Linked DNA regions of Homo sapiens: region 1 is linked to region 2. Evidence: promoter capture Hi-C in 16 types of primary human blood cells and fetal thymus (Javierre and others, 2016). All regions are on one chromosome and are shown on one strand. Each heading gives the region's core, a stretch centred on a gene start or on the middle of the fragment in contact. The rest is flanking DNA. Distances are from core to core; before and after follow the strand shown.

What was found. The method cuts DNA at HindIII sites, captures the fragments that hold promoters and counts their contacts. A CHiCAGO score of 5 or more calls a contact.
Region 1: a fragment that was not itself captured here is called in contact with the fragment with the promoter of HSPA4L in region 2 in 2 of 17 cell types (erythroblasts and fetal thymus); the score reaches 7.6 in erythroblasts.

The regions. Positions count from the first base shown.
Region 1 is chr4:129,095,084-129,100,486 of GRCh38, reverse strand. It overlaps C4orf33 (chromosome 4 open reading frame 33), which reads right to left and starts at 4,335. Exons shown (of 6, transcript NM_001099783.2): 1 at 4,278-4,335. The HindIII fragment of the contact is 1,229 bases long and covers 3,058-4,286 here.
Region 2 is chr4:127,778,277-127,783,583 of GRCh38, reverse strand. It overlaps HSPA4L (heat shock protein family A (Hsp70) member 4 like), which reads right to left and starts at 1,262. Exons shown (of 19, transcript NM_014278.4): 1 at 927-1,262. The coding sequence starts at 1,033. RefSeq lists enhancers at 512-591, 200-1,192, 1,092-1,241 and silencers at 1,382-1,451, 1,732-1,901, 5,278-5,307. The HindIII fragment of the contact is 4,318 bases long and covers 736-5,053 here.

The DNA.
Region 1 (5,403 bases), core at 2,423-4,922, 1.3 Mb before region 2:
TGGGTCTCATGGTCAGAGTGTGGTAGACTTTATAGCAGGTGTGTCCAATATTTTGGCTTCCCTGGACCACATTGGAAGAAGAAGAATGTGTGTCTTGGGCCACACATAAAATGCACTAACACTAACAATAGCTGATGAGCCAAAAAAAAAAAAATCAAAATACAATCCATAATGTTTACGAATTTGTGTTGGGCTGCATTCTAAGCTGTCCTGGGCCACATGTAGTCCATGGGCCTTGGGTTGGACAAGCTTGCATAGGTTTCAAATTACTTCAAAATGTAATTTTATCTGGAAGATAAGAAGTAAAAGATAAAAGCAAAGTTACCATTGTTAAGAATTAGGTAGTGAGTACCTCAAACCTTTCTACTGGTTCCTTCTGCTTTTCCCCCCTAAGGTTTCTTTGAGCATTATTTGAAAATTACTGCAAAAAATAGTGACTAGACTTCCACAAGTAGGGAATAGTGCATGGCTGATCAGTCCAAAGACAGAATATAATTTTGGCTTTAATTGCATAAACAACTTTCGTTTCTTATTGCAATGACAAATTTGTTTTTTTTTTTAAACTTTATATCGCTTAAAGAACACTGACGTCAATCTAAGAATGCATAATATTTATAAAAATTAACCTAAAAAGTATAGTCCGTCCTGCCCAGTAGTTAACAGTCTAGTTTAAAACTAACATAAACTAGAGACAGATGATTCTCCCTCTGTAATCTTCTGAGATTTAACCCCCACAACCTTTCAATTTCTTTGTATTTGAACATGTGTTCATTAAGTAAAGACAACTTAATTGTCAATGTCCTTCACCTCTTGGGCTAGCGCTCCCCTCCTGGTCATTCTCTATTAACCTATACACTGCTCTATTTCTATTCTTACATGGCAATTACATGGCATTACATATTTGTTTATTGACTCCCTGAACCCAGCTAGAATGCCTATAAGTGATGGTTACTATTTATTTGTTGAGTGAATAATTTTTCTAGTCCCTGGATCTAACACTCTAGATTTTGTGCAGGAGAAATCTACTGTGTTCGTGGTATCATCATCTCATTTAACACTACATATCAGATCAATACAATGGCTAATAACAAAGATAATAAGCCCAGAAATTCCCTTCAATTTAGTTTATCAAGCATTTATTAAGCACTCATCTTATTTCAGGTACCATACCAGGTGCTGGGGAAATAATATATAATAAGTCTACAGGAGTTTGGGATGGTTCTCATGTAACTAATCAATGAGGTACCCGTTTCCAACATCAGTTGGTTCATTTTGCAGTCCAATTTAATTCAGTGGGATCCTTATACCAAAGTAAGTTTTAGATGAATCAAAGATTTAAACATAAAAATCAAAATCATATAAAAACAGGAAATAAAAAGAGAGTTAAATAAAATCTTATAGTAGTAAGGTAGGAGATGAGCTGGGCTTGTTTTCTGAGCACCAAGGTCCCACTGATTGAAACAGAATCTTATCAAAACAAGATGCAGCAAAGAAACTGGCCACAACCAGCTAAAACCAAGATGGCAACAAAAGTGATCTCTAGTTGCCCTCACTGCTCATTATACATTAATTATAATGCAGTAGCATGCAAAAAAAAACTCCCAACAGTGGCATGACAGTTTACAAATGCCATGGCAACTCCTAGAAGTTACCTTATATGGTTTAAAAAAGGGAGGAACTCTCAGTTCTGGGAACCCTTCCTACTTTTCTGGAAAATGCATGAATAACCCACCCCTTATTTAGCATATAACCAGGGAATTGTATGTATACAGCTGGCCAACAATTCATGGGAGCTGCTGCTCCTACTCTGTCTATGGAGCAGCCATTTTCCTGTAGTTTGTTGCTCTGATAAACTTGCTTTAGCTTGTGAATCCTTTCCTGCATGAAGCCAAGAACTCTCCTGGGCTGAGCCCCAAATCTGGGCTTTCCCTGCATTAGTAGAGAAAACCTTTTAAAATACAAACCAAAACCCAAACATTTTACTACATAAATATAGCAAAACTAACATGGATGCAGCTGGAGGCTATTATTCTAAGCAAATTCATGAAAGTACAGAAAACCAAATACCACATATTTTCACTTATAAGTGGAAATTAAACAGTAGGTACTCATGGACATAAAGATGGCAACAACAGACACTGGGGACTACTAGAGGGGGGAGGGAAGAAAGGGGCAAGGGTTGAAAAACTAACTACTGGGTACTATGCTCACTACCCAGGTGATAGGATCATTCGTACCTCAAATCTCAGCATCATGCAATATAACCATGTGACAAACCCGCACATATATACCCTGGATCTAAAATAAAAGTTGAATTTTTTTAATAATAGATAAATAATAGTAAAAAAGCAAAAACCTCCTTCCCAAGTTCCCTTTACTCCAAAAGCCTATCATTAACAAAATCAAAAGTCTGGGGAAAAGTATATGCAATTCATACTTGATACAAATAACTAATTTCTTTAATGCACAAAGAGCTCCTAGAAATCAATAAGGAAAAGACCAACACTCCAACAGAAAAGTGACCAAAAATTATGAACAGCCAGTTCACGGAGAGAAAATGCAAAATGTTCACTTATAATGACAGAAATGCAAACTAAAACCACAATAAATTACCATTTTTCACTTAGATTGGCAAGGATCAGAAAGTCTGACAACAAGCTGTGTTAATGAAGGCATTGAGAAAAAAATCATTTATTGCTAGTGAGGCATAATTGATATAGCCTCTGTGAAGAGCAATACGTCAATATCTATCAAAATAAAAATGCAACTATCCTTTGACAAAAATAAGTCTAGTTCTAGGAGTTACTATACCTGCACATATTCAAAATGACATAAGCGTTGAGGATATTTGTGGTAGCATTGTTCATAATAACAAAATGTTGGAAGCAACTTAAATACCCATCAGTAGAGGACTGGTAAAAAAAATTATGCTATACCATACAATGAAACACTGTATAACTGCTAAAATGAATGAGGCAGCTCTGAATTAACATCTATGCTAAAATATGTTGTGAAGTGAAAAAAAGCAAGGTGCATTTATTTAATAAAAAGGAAGCTTATTTGCATATATGCTTGTGAGGCATACACTATCTCAGGAAACATCCAAGAAACGAGTGGTAACAGTGGTTGCTTCCCTGAAGGGAATTATCTGCCTGCAGATATGGGAAGGAGGAAGGCTTCCTTTCAACTTCATCACTTTTTAAAAACCTATCTGCATTTTACACTATGACAGACATGCATTACTATTTTAAGGTAACTGAACAGTTTAAAATTATTTTTTGGCCGGGCGCGGTGGCTCACACCTGTAATCCCAGCACTTTGGGAGGCCAAGGCAGGCGGATCACAAGGTCAGGAGATCGAGACCATCCTGGCGAACATGGTGAAACCCCGTCTCTACTAAAAATACAAAAATTAGCTGGGCGTGGTGGCACGCGCCTGTAGTTCCAGCTACTCGGGAGGTTGAGGCAGAAGAATCGCTTGAACCCGGAGGCGGAGGTTGCAGTGAGCAGAGATCGCTCCACTGCACTCCAGCCTGGCAACAGAGCAAGACTCCGTCTCAAAAAAATATATATATTTTAAGTCTAATTTAAGGCCGGTTCTCTTAAAAAGAGTATGGTGGCTGCCTCTTCTCCCCTTTATATTATATATGCTGAACGTTTCCGAAAAGTCATAATGCATATTATCAAGATGATTACTGTCCTGCAATGCAATTTTAAGTTTGGCTGTTTAGACTTTCTTAATACAATATTTATTGTTACTCTGTATGTTTCTACTTTTAACCTCTATTCTTCAAATTGCTCTTAAAACAAGTTAAAAAAATAAATTTTCAATTGTTCTGATTGCTTTATCTTTACCTGGAAAGACCTCTAAAAGGAAACGAAGGAAGAGAAAGGAGACCGAACACTGGAGCATTAAGAACCCAGGAAAAGAAAAAATGTCCGCAAAGTTTAAAAGAAATAAGTTATGGTAAAGGTGTTTTCTCAACCAAATGATCTGCAAGGAAAATTTCCAAATTCCTCTGCTCAACAAAAATTTCTTTAGTTTTTCTACAATAATGATTTCTTTTCAGTTTCCATACCTCCCCGAGGCCCCGCCCATTTATCAGGGAAACGGAGAAATGAGGAAGTCAGCCTGAAAGGGGGAGTACGCTCACTTAGCAGGAGACAGCTGAAAAGTAAAATACTTTTCAGTATTTTCCAGAGATCAAGCGAAAAACAAGACCTGGCGACGACGAAAGGAATGTCAGAGAGAAGAGGGAACAACTAGAGAACACAGACCACGAAGCTTTTCTCAAACACTGGCTTCTTCTTTTCAGCCGAGGTCACAGGAGAGGGCTCGGCTTTAGGCTCCACCCAGCTGCCTACACGTTCTGGGGGAGGGGCTTAGAACACTGAAGCTAAGACGCTTGATTTTTCTAGGAAAGAAAGATGTTGAAGGGCCACACATGAACAACTGAAGACTTCTAATCGTTCCACTAAAGTATGAGTGGTTTCCTAGAAGAAGGAAGGGTGATTCAGAAATATAAATACTGTGCAATAATTTGAAAATCAACTGTAAATCATTAAGATTACAATATAACATGTACAGAAATATTTCATTTAATACAACTAAAGGCTAACTGGCCATATAAGCAAAAACTATAAATTATATTATACCAGCTATAAACTATATTATACTATATTCCTGGGGAGGCATGTTCATAGCAGTTAACAATTGTGAAATTAGAACCATACTGCCTGGGTTCAAATCTCAACTCAGGCACTTGCCAGCTGTGTGATCTGTTCTGATCCTTGCTTAAACTTCTAACTTTGTATTCTTCCTGGTACTTTGCACATAGTACTGGGTGCTCAATGTCAATTGATCAACCAAATGAATGTTAGTGAAATGTCACTAATTTTCAATCTATACAACTTTAGGGGTTTTCTTTATTGCAGAAAAGTCATATAAAAACATTAAATGGTGGCTTGACAAGAGTTACACACAAACTACATACATTTCTGCTTGTCATTCCTTGTATTCAATTTATACTAATAGATACTTTTCATGAACATCCACTGAATTCTTTCATTCCTTCCATCAGATATTTAATCAACTCTGTGTTCCAGGTATTATGATGGAGCCTGGAGACAAACTACAAAACATGACAGATAATGCAGGAAGGAGCATGAAGTAAGTACTAAGGTGGCACCTACCTTGGGAGAAGTGGATAAAGAACTCAGGAGATGTGAAAAGGAGGAACATGAGAGGGGATCCTTTAAGGATAAGTGAAATCATCACAATTTTGTTTCCTAATGATGAAACTTATGTTGAAAATACTCCATTAAAATTCAACTACTAAAATCTTGTAACCACAAACACAAACGCAAAAACAAAAAACTATCATGATCATAATTATGATCATGT
Region 2 (5,307 bases), core at 13-2,512:
AGAATTACTTCATTATATTCCTTGCCAACAAACTTCCCAGGCCAGAGAAACAACGGAACATGTGGAAACATGTTTCCATGACATAACGCCGCTCCTCCTAAGCCTTTCATTAAGCGTTCATAATAGAATCACTCCACAGTCATGTTTATACGGGACAGCTGCCCCCGACTCCGGCAATTCACTCTGCAGAAACACGCTTTTGGTCCGACCCAACCCCGCCGCATTCCAGCAACTGACGTAGTTACCAATGCACAAGGCCAGTGACTCCCATCCCGAGGCTCTCCCTATCAATGCACCATTGACCTGGCCCTGTAAACCGGCTCCATTACCTGCAGTTCTCAAGGGCACTGGGTTTTGTAAAACCCCACATGCCTCACTCCCCGCCCTTAAAAAAAAAAAAAAGGCTTTCGGGGCCAGATGAACCTGCAATTCATCTCTGACGTGTGCAGCCGAAGCTGACTTTTTACTTTTCTGAGAAAAAGCTGTCACCCAGAGGGACGGGGAAAGGAAGGAGGGCAGCTGGCGCGGGGCCGATAATCCCACGTAAACCTCGTTAGAGGCAACCGGAGATCTTTCTCAATATTCCGGACGCCAGGGGCTGTCCCACAGCAACCTCTTCCTCGCAAGCAAAAGAGGCGTTGGGGGACAGCGGCACGAGGCAGGGGACGTGCGTAGGTACAGAAAAGAGAGCTGCGCAAACTAGTGCGGTCCCTCGTCCTTGAAGGAAAAGAAGCTTTGCGGGGCGAGGAAGTCCGACTGCCACCCGGCGGTCTCTAGGGACTGCGGTTGACGGGTTGCACCTGTCATCTCGGGGTTCGGCGCACGTTAGGGGAAAATCCGAGGAAGCGAGCAGACAGGACAAACGTTAAGGACGGGAGAGAAAAACGTTTCTTAGGGTCGAGGTGATGCTCAGCAGAGGCACTTACGGGGTACACCTGTCGCTGTACTCATTGGCGATGGTCTCGATGCCGCCACTTCTCGCGACAGCAATGTAGCAGTTGAGAAAGCCGAGGTCAATGCCAACCACAGACATCCCGCCGCGTGATGGTCGGGCTGCTGGTACTGAACCCTTCGGTACGGGAACCGTGTCCTCTTCTGGGCTATTGCTGCTGGGATTGCGACTCCTACCAGAAGCAAACGAGAGGGGACCCCAAGTCGCTAAGCAGAAAATCTAGGGCAGGGAGTCGGAAACCCGCGGAAGGAGCAGAGGCCGTCAGCGCCGCAGCCTGCACCGCGTCCCGCAGCCTGGGTCTTTCCCTACTGCGGTTCGGCCGCCTCCAACCGGCGGTTACTGGGACCTGCGCCTGCGCGCTCGGCTGCCCGGGAGGCGCGCGAGCCTCCGCTCCGCGCCCGAGCCAGCTCCGGGCCCGGACTTCGGCCGCTTCCGTCAGCACTCGGGCAACGGCTGCCCAAGAAGCTGCGGGTTCGAGAAAGATCTGGAAAATGGAGGCTGCTGAGCTATCCGGGGGCGGGAGAAGCGGGAAGGCGGGGCGGGGAGGATCGGGGAAAGGAGGCTAGGCACATTGGCTTGCTCGCCCTCGCTCGGCAGTAGGACGTCGGGCGGTCGGGCTAGGTGAGAGGCAGGCGACCGGCCGGCCCGGGGCTTTGCGAACGTGTTTTGAGGCACATTTTTGGGTTGTTTTGGCAACCGGAGGCGTGCTTGTCACGGCGGCAGGATGCTGTCCTGGCTGGCGGGCGCCGCCCCCTCACCCCCTGCCCTCAGAAGGGCTCGCCCGCAGGCCTCGCCTCCCCGAGGGGCCCATGTGCAGCCCGGCGCCCTCCCCTTGTGGCTGGAGGCCCGCCGCGCCCGGCTCTGTGAGGTGGCGCGCATTGTCCGACGTCCGCCGCTCCGCCCTGTCCAGCCCCGGGGGAGCTGCCGAGCCCGGGACAGACTCTTGTGCGAAAGCGGGATGAGCACATGTTAGGTTTTTTTCTTTTTTCATCAGCAGGATTTGAAATATCAAAAGTCAAACTTCTGTCAAGAAATAAGATCACACTGACAACTTTCCCTCCACGTACCTTTCCTCACACCTTTCTAAAAGATGCTGGCCCCGCCGCTGACCCTTGTCTCTGGAAACCAGTTTTACAGGAAAGTGACCTTAATTAAGTGTGCCACTCACACCAGCCAAGTCTGTGCTTTAGCCTCCAGCCGCTGCCCTGTGGTCCTCAAAAAAGAGCCCAGTGTGGTCCAGCGCCCTCCCTCTTGGTTTGATCGGCATGTGTTGCCTGTCTGTAATTAACCAAGTTTTATGTTACACTTAAGAAATTTGGCTGTCTTGTTGCTTTTCGTTCACTTTTACGTGTGTGCCCTGTTCCTTCTCTGCCAGTCCTTGGTCTGTTCCCTGTTCCTCCCCGTCCTCTTCATCTAGTCTCTGTTCCTTCTCATCCAATTCTTTGTGTGTTTTCCTGTTCCATTTTGGTATCCATCTTGAAAACAGGCGTGTTTTTTTGTTTGTTTGTTTTGTTTACTAGATTCTTTAGTATTCTGATTATCCCTAGTTGTCCACTTCTTTAAATAACTTAGATTTTTTACTATTAATAATGTTGCTACAGCAGCAGCAGCAGCAAGGGTGGCTATAGTTCCTGCTGCTGTTAGAATGAACGTGAAATCCATTTTCAAGGGCAATACTGAGGCAACTGGATTGTACAGTATTGCTTGGGCTCTGGTCTCTACATTGAAGAAATCAATCAGGCCTCTCTTCCCTTCATGAGCACTCAGGAGACGTGGAGCCCCTGGGTGAAGCTGCGCTCTGAGACACCGCAGAACTCGGCGTCCCAGCGGGCAGCTCGTGAGCAGAACAGGGATTGGGCGTTGCCCTGCGACTGAACCCTGGGCCCTGGTCCTGCTGGGCGCCTGTGACTTCCACCAGTTCTCCTCACACACCTCTTCTGACATCGGCCATCACTATCTAGATTTATTCCAGAATATCCTGAAATTCTCCTAGTACAATTAATTTATCTTAATTCCATTAGTTTATCCATGTTGTCTATACAACTTGAGGGTGTAAGAATGTTTTTTTTTTTTCCTATTAAAAATACCACTTAAAATATCAAAGTAAAAAGGAAGTTGAGGCCAGGAGCAAAGTGGTGTTATCATCACGTTCCTTACAATTACTGGCAGGACGTGAGAGTACCCAGTGGTTAAAACCATGACGGGCTTTGGGGTCACACAGATTTGGGTTGTAGTACCAGGCTTGCCTAACTTACTACCTGTATAACGTTTGGCAAGTTACTTAATGCTCCAAGCCACAGGTTCAGTCTGTTAAAATGAGGACAAATATGCCTACTGGGCTGTTTTTATGATTAAATAATGTAAGCACTGCATCAGTCCCTGGCACCAAACGGTCAATAAATGCTAGCTATGCTTAGCTGCTGAATGATCCTGATTCATGTACATTGGTCATGTATCCAGCAACCTTGCTGTATTCTAAATTCAAGTATTTGCAGAATTTCTTGGATTTTCTGTGTATAGAACAATATGGCCTGGGAAATAATGAATTTCTTCATTTCTATTTCTTCTGTTTCTTATTGTTTTGCCTGGATTATGTTGCTTAAGTGCTCCAGTAAAATTTTGAAAATAAACAGTAGTGGTAAGCATCCTTGTCTTGTCCCTAACATTAAATACCTTTGTGTTTATGATGTAAGAAAGTTAACAAAATTATCTTCTATTCCTACTTTGCTAAGAGATTTTTCTCATAAAATCCACTCACACGCCTGTAAGTGGATACTGAAACTTAACAAATGTTAACCATCATCTAATGACCTGTTTGTTGCCCTTTAATTTGTTAATACAATGAATAACGTTACTAGAGTTTTCTAACATCCTTGTATCCCTGGGATAAACCAGAAAGGCCATGATGGTTCTGATTGTTTTGGCTTGTGATTATTTTATGAAGGATCTTTACATCTATATTCATAAATGAAACTGGCCTTTTTCTTTCTTTACTCTTTTTATTGGCGTCAAGATTATCGCCTCATAGAGGAAGCCAAAGGGGTTTCCTCTTTTTTGTTCCCTTCTGATAGTTTTGGTAAGAAAAGCCTGTAAACCGGCTGGGCGGGGTGGCTCACGCTTGTAATCCCAGCACTTTGGGGGCCGAGGCGGGCGGATCACCTGAGGTCAGGAGTTTGAGACCAGCCTGACCAACATGGCGAAAACCCATCTCTGCTAAAAATACAAAATTAGCCGGGCGTGGTGGCACATGCCTGTAATTCCAGCTACACAGGAGGCTGAGGCAGGAGAATTGCTTGAACCTCGGAGGCGGAGGTTGTGGTGAGCCGAGATTGCGTCATTGCACTCCAACCTGGGCAACAAGAGAGAAACTCCGTCTCAAAAAAAAAAAAAAAAAAAAAAAGGGCTGTAAACCATCTTAGCCTAGAGTTTATGAGGTTTATGATGAATGATTAAATTTCTTTAGTGGTTATGGTCTATGTTTTCTATTATTCTTGAATCATTATTGGTTATTTGTATTATTAAAAATTTACCATTTCATCTAGGTTTTCAAGTTTGTTGGCACAAAGTTGATTATTCACTTAAAAAAATCTCTTCAGTAGTTATATGTACATCTTTTTCATTCTTAATATTCTTTATTTTAATCTCTTCCTTTTCTTGGTTCCTGTCAGTATGGTTTGTTAAAAGAACCAGCTTTTGGTTTTCTTGCCTGACTTAATTGTCTTTGTTTTCTGTTCCATCTGCTCTTTGTTTCACTATTTTTGTTTATTCCTTTTCTAGTTCATTGATTTTCAGTTTCTTGTTTTCTAATACATACACTTGAAGCTGTAAATTTCCTTCTACGTACCATTTTAGCTATATTCCTACCTGAATTTTCAAAGAATTGAAGTTGGAGAGTAGGCAATGAGGATAAAATGAAACAGGCCAATGGTCACTGGTCTTGTTGTCTAAGGTGTTATCCGAGTTCGTTGTCTCACGACCGAAGGAGCGTGGATGCAAAGGGTGAGATAGGAGCGAAAGTTTAATAAGCAGAAGAAGAAACCTCTGCACAGTGTAGAGGGGAGCCCTAGTGGGTTGCTGTTTTTAGAGTTGAATTCAAAAGCTTTTATAAGAAACTCCCCTCATCTCTGTAGCTGTTTGAGTAGTTTCTCTTATTAGTAGCTGTCTGTGCAACTCCCCTTATCTTATGTAGTTGTGGGTATGTCTCTAGGCAAGCACAAAGTGCCACTTCTCTTGTTTCTGTAACTGCGGGCTTAATTTAGGTAATCCCTCCTTCTCCCTACAGAAGTTCCCATGGAGCCCACCGTGTACATGTCTGAAAAGGGGAGGACACTTTTTCCTGGGAGCCTGCCAATCAC